2 separate regions of the Homo sapiens genome follow, and region 1 is linked to region 2. Evidence: promoter capture Hi-C in human tissues and cell types (Jung and others, 2019). All regions are on one chromosome and are shown on one strand. Each heading gives the region's core, a stretch centred on a gene start or on the middle of the fragment in contact. The rest is flanking DNA. Distances are from core to core; before and after follow the strand shown.

The links. Contacts are between HindIII fragments. The study calls those that stand out against the background at their distance.
Region 1: a fragment that was not itself captured here is called in contact with the fragment with the promoter of IRGM in region 2 in 1 of the 25 tissues and cell types used here (H1 embryonic stem cells).

What each region holds. Positions count from the first base shown.
Region 1 is chr5:151,125,134-151,129,613 of GRCh38, reverse strand. It overlaps ANXA6 (annexin A6), which reads left to right. Exons shown (of 26, transcript NM_001155.5): 12 at 85-207; 13 at 1,375-1,433; 14 at 3,134-3,212. Among named protein-coding and RNA genes, the nearest start is that of ANXA6, 30 kb to the left of the region's middle. RefSeq lists an enhancer at 3,301-3,460. The HindIII fragment of the contact is 4,399 bases long and covers 894-4,480 here.
Region 2 is chr5:150,843,625-150,848,011 of GRCh38, reverse strand. IRGM (immunity related GTPase M) reads right to left here and starts at 1,491. Exons shown (of 2, transcript NM_001145805.2): 1 at 792-1,491; 2 at 1-303. RefSeq lists a silencer at 611-905. The HindIII fragment of the contact is 10,169 bases long and covers 1-4,387 here.

The sequences.
Region 1 (4,480 bases), core at 1,844-4,343, 280 kb before region 2:
AATAGGATTTTCAACTAAGCTGGGAGCTATCAGCACTCTAGCCTCCTCTCAAGTCCATGTTCCCCAAACCCACTTGTCTTGCAGGGCCTGGGGACTCGGGACAACACCCTGATCCGCATCATGGTCTCCCGTAGTGAGTTGGACATGCTCGACATTCGGGAGATCTTCCGGACCAAGTATGAGAAGTCCCTCTACAGCATGATCAAGGTCAGCAGAGCTCATGGGGGCAGAGAAGGGAGCAAAGAGCTTTTTGCCAAGACAGAGGGCTTGGGGACTATTCCCAGGAAAAGGAAATGTCCTAGGAAGTGGGAGTCTCTTGGACATTCCAGGAGCTCCTGCCTTGTGGCTCATTCAAGGAATTTAAGGATATTCAACAGAAAAGCAAGTGTTAGGGGTGTTTGTGAGTGGTAAGGCTACAGAAGGAGGCAGGGGCTGGGTCATGAAGGACACGCAAGCTGAATTAAGTGCGAGGACTCTGCCCCAAGGGCAGTGATAGTTCAGTCTCCTGGAAGAAGGCTGGGAAACACTGAAGAACACAAATGAGGGTTAAAGGGGAACCTTTGGCCTGGGCCGGGTGATTGGTGATGACTCTGGGACATCCGGCCCCTGAGGCTTTATCAGGAGACATATGTAAAGCTAGGGGTTTTCCCTTTTTTTTTTTTTTTTTGGATGACTGAAATAAAACTTTATGGGGTGACAGAGAAAGAGATCCAAGTTGTATTCTCCAAAGTATGTTTCCAAAGGGTAATTTTTTTAGGTGTTATGTGCAAAATGTTCTATGGGAAAATAAGTTTGTAACAAACCACAATAAGCAAAGATAAATAAGCCAGTTTCTTTACCTCAGAACTTCTCACAGCCTTTCACATTTTGAAGTCCATTATGAAGCCCCAAGAGGGATATGGAATATGCATCTATACGGATATGTGCATCTGTGTAATATATATTTGTTTGATTTTTTTGCATTTCCCAATATTTTTGCTCATGGAACCCCATTTCCATGCATATTTCATGTGGAAGGACTGGGCTGGGGACTGTCTGGTGGCAGTGCTGTGCTGGGGCACTGGCTTGAAAGGGCAGCGAGCATCTCTTCTCAACTCCGCATATTGGTAGCAAAGTCATATTGGTAACTTGAAATTGTCCATTGCTAGAAGTATTTACACCACAGAAATAGGCAAATGCTATAAATTAGGGCTTCCTCCAACCTGCCCGCTGAGAACCAGTTATTCAATATTAACCAGCACAGGAGGGCCAGGGCTGCTATGAATAAGTGTTCATTCAGCCTTCCCCTCTTTCAGGCTGTGCAGAACCTTCACCTCCTTGTCTGAGAGGAGCCCAGGGCTGGGTGAGAGGTAACCTTTCTTTCTTTCTCTTCAGAATGACACCTCTGGCGAGTACAAGAAGACTCTGCTGAAGCTGTCTGGGGGAGATGATGAGTAAGTGGCTTCTTGGCCCCTGGCTGGAGGGCATGGCCTTGGGGTGCCAGGCGGGGACTCTCCTGGCTCGCATCCTGATGGGTGGATTGGATGAGCTGGGGATTCCCCTGAGCCAGGAGCGTCGCACAAGTGAAAGGCGGCTTTTGCTGGTAGCTGCTGTGCTTGTGGGTCTGTGTGTCTGAGAGTGTGGGGGTCTGAACGTGAGCGTGGTCTCCTGTATATGGAGATGTCTGCTCTTGTGAACTTGGAAAGTCAGTCTGGGGTTGTGGACTAGGAACCAGAATATGAGCATCCAATCCCTGCTATTTCATAGCCATTTCTCGGTTTCATCACCTGTTAAATGGGAAAAGGACACATTCCTGCTCTGCCTACTCATTTATGCAGCATATTTGTGTTAAGTGCCTTCTGGGTGCAGACCCTGTGAGGAAGCCCCTGATGAAGGCCACAGCGCAGAAGGGTATAGACCAGTTTCCAGAAGGGAGCAGTCCTGTGCTGGGGAGAACTGGCTGTGCCACATAGAAAGCATATATAAAAGCACACAGAGATGCCCTAGCCCAGACCAAGGGGAGACTCTTTGGAGATACACGGTGAGACCCAAGGAGGAAGGGGAAGAGCCAGGTGAAGAGGGTCTGGGGACAGTGTTTGGGTGGAGGAAATCACCTATAGAAAAGCCGAGGAGTGAGAAGGAGTGGCCTGATTCATTCATATGTCCGAAGTCATGCATTTATGGAGTACTAGAGAGAGAAATAAGGCAGAGAAGTGGGAGGGCCTGGGGGCCTCTTCCCAGAATGTTAAATTGGGACATTACTTGACCAGATTTGTGTTTGAGAAAGGGAACAGGCTGCGCTCTGATTTCCTTTCTCTGGATCTTATAAAGATCCAATTACAGAAGGGATGCAAGAATTTCCTGTGAACCTTTGGTAAGGACCATAGGGGTTGATGCAGTTCAGCAGATATTACTGAGCTCCTGATGCATCCAGGCACTTTGCAGGAGGAGATGCAGGGCTGGCATGGCCATAGCTTGCTCAATGGCCTCTTTGAGAGGGGAGAGTTGGATAGAAGCCATTCAAATTCTAAGGAAGAAAGGGGAGGCTGAAGGATTGGAAAAATCCTATCCTGCTTGGACTCTGCAGCCAGGAAGGCTGCCCTTAAAAGCCAGCATTGGCCGGACACAGTGGCTCAGCGCCTGTAATCCCAGCACTTTGGGAGGCTGAGGCGGGCGGATCACCTGAGGTCAGGAGTTCAAGACCAGCCTGGCCAACATGGCGAAACCCCATCTCTACTAAAAATACAAGAATTAGCCAGGCGTGATGGCGGGTGCCTGTAATCCTAGCTACTTGGGAGACTGAGGCAGGAGAATCGCTTGAACCTGGGAGGCAGAGGTTGCAGTGAGCTGAGATCGAGCCACTGCACCCCAGCCTGGGTGACAAGAGCAAAACTCCGTCTCAAATAAAAATAAAAAATAAAAAAGGCAGCATTGCAGGGGGTCTCAAGAGATGGAAGGTTCTCAGAAATGGAGGGAGGACTCTGGCGAATGGAGGAGGCATAGGCTGGAGAGAAAGAAAGCTTAATGTGTGTGTGGTGTGTGCACGTGTGTGTATGTGTTGGGGTGTGTGTGTGTGTGTGTGTGTGTGTGTTGGTGTGAGTGTTGCCCATGATGACATTCCTTCCTGTCCTCTCCCTAAACCCCTCCATTCCAGTGCTGCTGGCCAGTTCTTCCCGGAGGCAGCGCAGGTGGCCTATCAGATGTGGGAACTTAGTGCAGTGGCCCGAGTAGAGGTCAGACCTTCCCCTCCTCCTGCTTGACCTCTTGACCACAGCTTCTCTGCTTGCACCTTCCTGCTGCTCTGGTTGGCACCCAGCTGCCCCCTGGCGGCCAACCCGACACGTTGATTCTCACATCTGAAGCTTCCTTTTCTCCCTTGGAGTGGTGAACTGGTGGAGGGGCGCACCTGGTTTCTGCATTAGCTTCTGACACGCTGGAAAGGGTTCTGGCCCACTTACTAACAGGGCTTGCTGAAATGGAGACCTGGCTGGTTCCATGGAGGGGCCTGTCCCGTCTGGAGTCGAAACAGTTGGCCTCAGAGACATGAAAGCTGAGAACAGATGGGCATCCCTGGGTGCACTGGAGGATTTCAGGTTGTCCTCCTGAGCATCCTCAGACTGGGGGTCCACAAAGGACAGGAATGAAAGGTTTCACTAAAGTACTTTAGGCAAACCATTCCAGAGACTGCAACACTTGGTCCACACAAAAAAGCATGGGACCTTGGAGCTCTCTGTTACTTATTCGCTATGTAACCTTTGGAAGGTGCCCCCTCCCTCTGGGCCTCTATGTCTCCATCTTTAAAGTGAGGGGTTAACATGGCAATCTCGGTGATCTCTTAGGGCTCTTGAGCTCTGATGTTCTAGGACAGTGTTCCCCAAATGATAAGGCAAGAGATCTTTGCAGATGATTGTAGGTGATGTGAGAAGTGAATTTAGTTTGGCAGGGTTGAATAACGCTGAACTCCACAGAGTGAATGAGAAAGGCACTCCTTTCCAATTTCATCAGCGTTTCTGATTACGTCAAAGAGGAAGTCTTGGTTTGGTGCCGCCGTCTCTGCAACACTTGCTGATTTTCCTTTTTCACAAAGAGAAAGCTGAGAGAGCTCGCTTTAAGTTTCAGAGCTTCTGGCAAGTAGAGGCATCATGTTAAATTTCATGGTATATCACCTCTTTTGTTTTTATTATGTTGATTTTTGTGGTAAATTGTCAGTTTATGATACATGGTATCAACTTCCTAATTCATGGTAGTTATATAAAATTAATTTCATCCATTCCTTTTTTTTTTTTTTTTTTTGAGACAGGGTCTCACTCTGTTATCCAGGCTGGAGTACAGTGGCATGATCATGGCTCACTGCCACCTCCCCAGGCTCAGGTGATCCTTCCACTTAGCTTCCCAAGTAGCTGGGACCTCAGGTGGACACCACCACACCTGGCTAATTTGTGTAGAGACAGGGTTTCACCATGTTGCCTGGGCTCATCTTGAACCAATGGGCTCAAGCGAT
Region 2 (4,387 bases), core at 242-2,741:
GGCCAACATCGTGAAACCTTCTCTACTAAAATACAAAAAAATTAGCTGCGCGTGGTGGTGTGCGCCTGTAGTCCCAGCTAATACAGGAGGCTGAGGCAGGGGAATCGCTTGAACCCTGGACGCAGATATTGCAGTGAGCTGAGATCACGCCATTGCACTCCAGCCTGGCAACAGAGCAAGACTCCATCTCAAAACAAACAAAACCCAATGCTTATGGTGTGGCAAAAAGAGGTTAAGGATGCAGCTAATAGAGTGTGAGGGGCACTTGGGACACTCTGTCGTATCTGTGGGCACTGGAGTAAGCTGCGGAAGTAGAAGAGCAGGTGAGTTAGGATGGACAGGGTACACATGAATCATCTGACTTTTAGCATCCCCAGCCCTCAACGAAGACTGCAGCAGACGATCTTGACTGAGTGTTCTTTGATTGTTTTTATTCAAGCAATGTGCACATTTCTTCAGGGAGCAAGAAAGGTAGGGTCCCTGAGGAACGCCCTGAGGCCGGTTGTGCCTCCGAGTCAGCCTCCAAAGCAGGCATGTGGCCATGAGATGGCTTGAAAAGCAGAGAATGAACCAAGTCTCCTGAAAAGCCCAAGAGGTTTTTGTCTTTCCCTCTTTTACTCTATCCTAATATAGGTCTGCTCCTTCACAAGTTTCAGTACATATTTCAAGACCAAAACCAGACAAGTAAAAGTGACCTATATATTTCTCTGCTGAAGATGGCGCCAGAGGACATAAAACATCCAATTCCCATTGCTTACTTGAAGCTGTGATCATCCCTGTTTAACACTTACCTCATCAGGCGGGGGAGCACACGTGCAGAGCAGTACTGAAATGCTGCAATATACGTGAAGTAAGCCACCAGCCTTTGACCCCCGAGCTTCCATTAAGACTGTCATGTTGGGCCCAACTGAAGTGAGGGAGAGGAGGAGACAGCATACTCAAATGCTCTGCTCTTTTTCAAGGCAGTGATTAGACAATTGCTTATCATTGCATTCGCCAAACCTGGCTCTTGCAGGTTCCACAAGGGGCCAGGTATTTGAGACTGATTAAAAGAAGGTGATGTGATTTCCTACTCCTACCGGAATTGGTGGGTTCTTCGTCTCACTGACTTCAAGAATGAAGCCACGGACCCTCGCGGTGAGTGTTACAATTCTTAAAGGCTGCGTGTCCGGAGTTTGTTCCTTCTGATGTTTGGATGTGTTCAGAGTTTCTTCCTTCCGGTGGGTTCGTGGTTTCACTGACTCAGGAGCGAAGCTGCAGACCTTCGAAGTGAGAGTTACAGCTCTTCAGGCGGCGAGTCTGGAGTTGTTCGTTTCTCCCCGGGGGGTTCGTTGTTTCACAGGTTTCAGGAGTGATGCTGCAGACCTTCACGGTGAGTGTTACAGCTCATAAAGGCAGTGTGGACCCAAAGAATGAGCAGCAGCAAGATTTACTGCAAAGTGCAAAAAAACAAAGCTTCCACAGCATGGAAGGGGACCTGAGCAGGTTACCACTGCTGGTTCGGGCAGCCTGCTTTTATTCTCTTATCTGGCCCACCCACATCCTGCTGATTGGTCCATTTTACAGAGAGCCGATTGGTCTGTTTTACAGAGAGCTGATTGGTCCATTTTGACAGGGTGCTGATTGGTGTGTTTACAATCCCTGAGCTAGACACAAAAGTTCTCCACCTCCCCACTAGATTAGCTAGATACAGAGTATAGATTGGTGCATTTGCAAACCTTGAGCTAGACACAGGGTGCTGATTGGTGTGTTTACAAACCTTGAGCTAGATATAGAGTGCCAATTGGTGCATTCACAATCCCTTAGCTAGACATAAAGATTCTCCAAGTCCCCACCAGATTAGCTAGGCTCAGAGTGCTGATTGGTGCATCCACAAACCCTGAGCTAGACACAGGGTGCTGATTGGTGCATTTACAATTCCTGAGCTAGACACAAAAGTTCTCCATGTCCCCACTAGATTAGCTAGATACAGAGGGTCGATTGGTGTGTTCGCAAACCCTGAGCTAGACACAGGGTGCTGATTGGTGTGTTTACAAACCTTGAGCTAGATACAGAGTGCTGATTGGTGTATTTACAATCCCTTAGCTAGACATAAATGTTGTCCAAGTCCCCACCAGACTCAGGAGCCCAGCTGGCTTCACCCAGTGGATCCTGCACCAGGCCGCAGGTGAAGCTGCCTGGCAGTCCCCGGCCATGCGCCTGCACTCTTCAGCCCTTGGGCAGTGGATGGGACTGGGCGCCGTGGAGCAGGGAGCGGCGCTCATAGGGGAGGCTCGGGCTGTGCAGGAGCCCACGGAGTGGGGCAGGGGAGAGAGGCTCAGGCATGGCGGGCTGCAGGTCCCAAGCCCTGCCCTGCGGGGAGGCAGCTAAGGCCGGGGAGAAATCCAGCACAGCAGCTGCTGGCCCAGGTGCTAAGCCCCTCACTGCCAGGGGCCATCGGGGCCGGATGGCTGCTCTGAGCGCGGGCCCGCTGAGCCCACGCCCACCCGGAACTCGTGCTGGCCCGCAAGCGACGCCCGCAGCCCCAGTTGCTGCCCGTGCCTCTCCCTCCACACCTCCCCACAAGCTGAGGGAGCCAGCTCCGGCCTTGGCCAGCCCAGAAAGGGGCTCCCACAGTGCAGCGGCGGGCTGAAGGGCTCCTCAAGTGCCACTAGAGTGGGCGCCAAGGCTGAGGAGGCTCCGAGAGCCAGCGAGGGCTGCGAGGGCTGCCAGCATGCTGTCACCTCTCACTAGCATGGCCTGGCAGGTCTGTTTCACACACTCATTGTGAACACACACAACACTGCACACAGCCACTCATACCTGGTGTGCACACTCACCCATGCCCAGCCATGTTTACTTACCCCCCCACACACACACTCTCACTCACCCTCGGCATGCACACATACACTTACTTGCATTCTGTGCACAGGCCCACACATACTCACACTGACACACGTTCACACACCCTAACATACTTAAGCTGACATGTGTAAACATGAATACATACATCCCTGTTGCACACACTACACTTGCTCACTCAGGCTGCAACATGTTCACTTACCCCACACACAAACACACAAATTCACTCGTGGTGCCACGTTCACACAAACTTATGTTTGATGCACACATGCTCACACACTCTGTGCACATATATATACACTCATGTAGGCTGACACATGTTCACTCACCTACCCTCATGCTTCGTGTGCCCAGTGCCCACACACTCTCTCACATGACACATGTTCGTACACTCATGCACACACAGAATCTTGCCTCCTGAGTGCCCAGGACAATGGATTTGTCCAAGTCTTTGGCCCTTTTAGAGGGCCCAGGAAGCAGAGAACTGGCTCCAGCTGTCTATCTATGAAATATGAAGAAAGGCCCTAATGGAGGAGATGGATGAGAGAGGCCCTGTTCTCTGGAATGTATATGAGTCTTCAATTTCTCGGTGCCTCACTTGTCTTGGGAAGATTTTATAACCCACCATATGGCGAGAGCAGCAACTGATCATTGACTTCCTCATGCCAGGCTTCATCTGTGGCTGCTATATAAAGTTTCTCCGTTGTAACATTAATTATTTTGGTTTACATAAATAACTAGTTTCTTCTCATCAAATGCTACTTAGATATGGTGGCTTTTAGTTAGTCTGCAAAGAGGAAGAGGTAACCTATGGAATCTGGAGGGAAGGAGGCAGGGTAATTACCAGGTTCGAATGGAGTCCCTCAGCAGCCTAGCAGGAGAATGGAGTGGGGAGGTCTGGCCTTAGGAGTTTTGCCCACATGTCTCTGCATGGATAGCTGGCAGGCTGGTTAAGGTGAGGAATCGAGCACTCCCCTTCCCCACAACATTATACCGGATAGATGCACAAGGGAGTGGAGCAGGAGCACATGCAGGGTAGGGGATGGGCTTGGGCCTGTGGCAGGCCCATTTTCTAACCCAAGTAGTCCCAGAAACTATTGCTTCATCAGGTATTAAATGATTGGCATCATATTAATACATACACAGGTCTTGGCATTAACCATTAAACATTTCCATTAAACTCTTTACCATTGTACTCCTTGTGCCCAGCAGGTGTTAAACATATTTTTGTTTGATTAATAAAACATAGTACACTTTGTGTGTTGTTAACTTACTAATTGACAGATAAGTTAACTTCCCTTTCTAAACTGTACCCGCTGAGCACGGGGTCTACTAATATACATCCAATTTTCAAGCACACTCTGCTTGGGTACGACACGGGCCAGTGCAGGGTACTGACTGTCCATGGTGAGTGTGGGAGGTCAGCAGAAAACCCTATAGTTTTCCAGGCTTTTTCTGTGACCATGTCTGTGAACTGAGCCAGCATCTTCAAACCTGTCTGCTTACCTGTCCACCAGTGCTGAGCCCCATGGGAAACAGCCTTAGC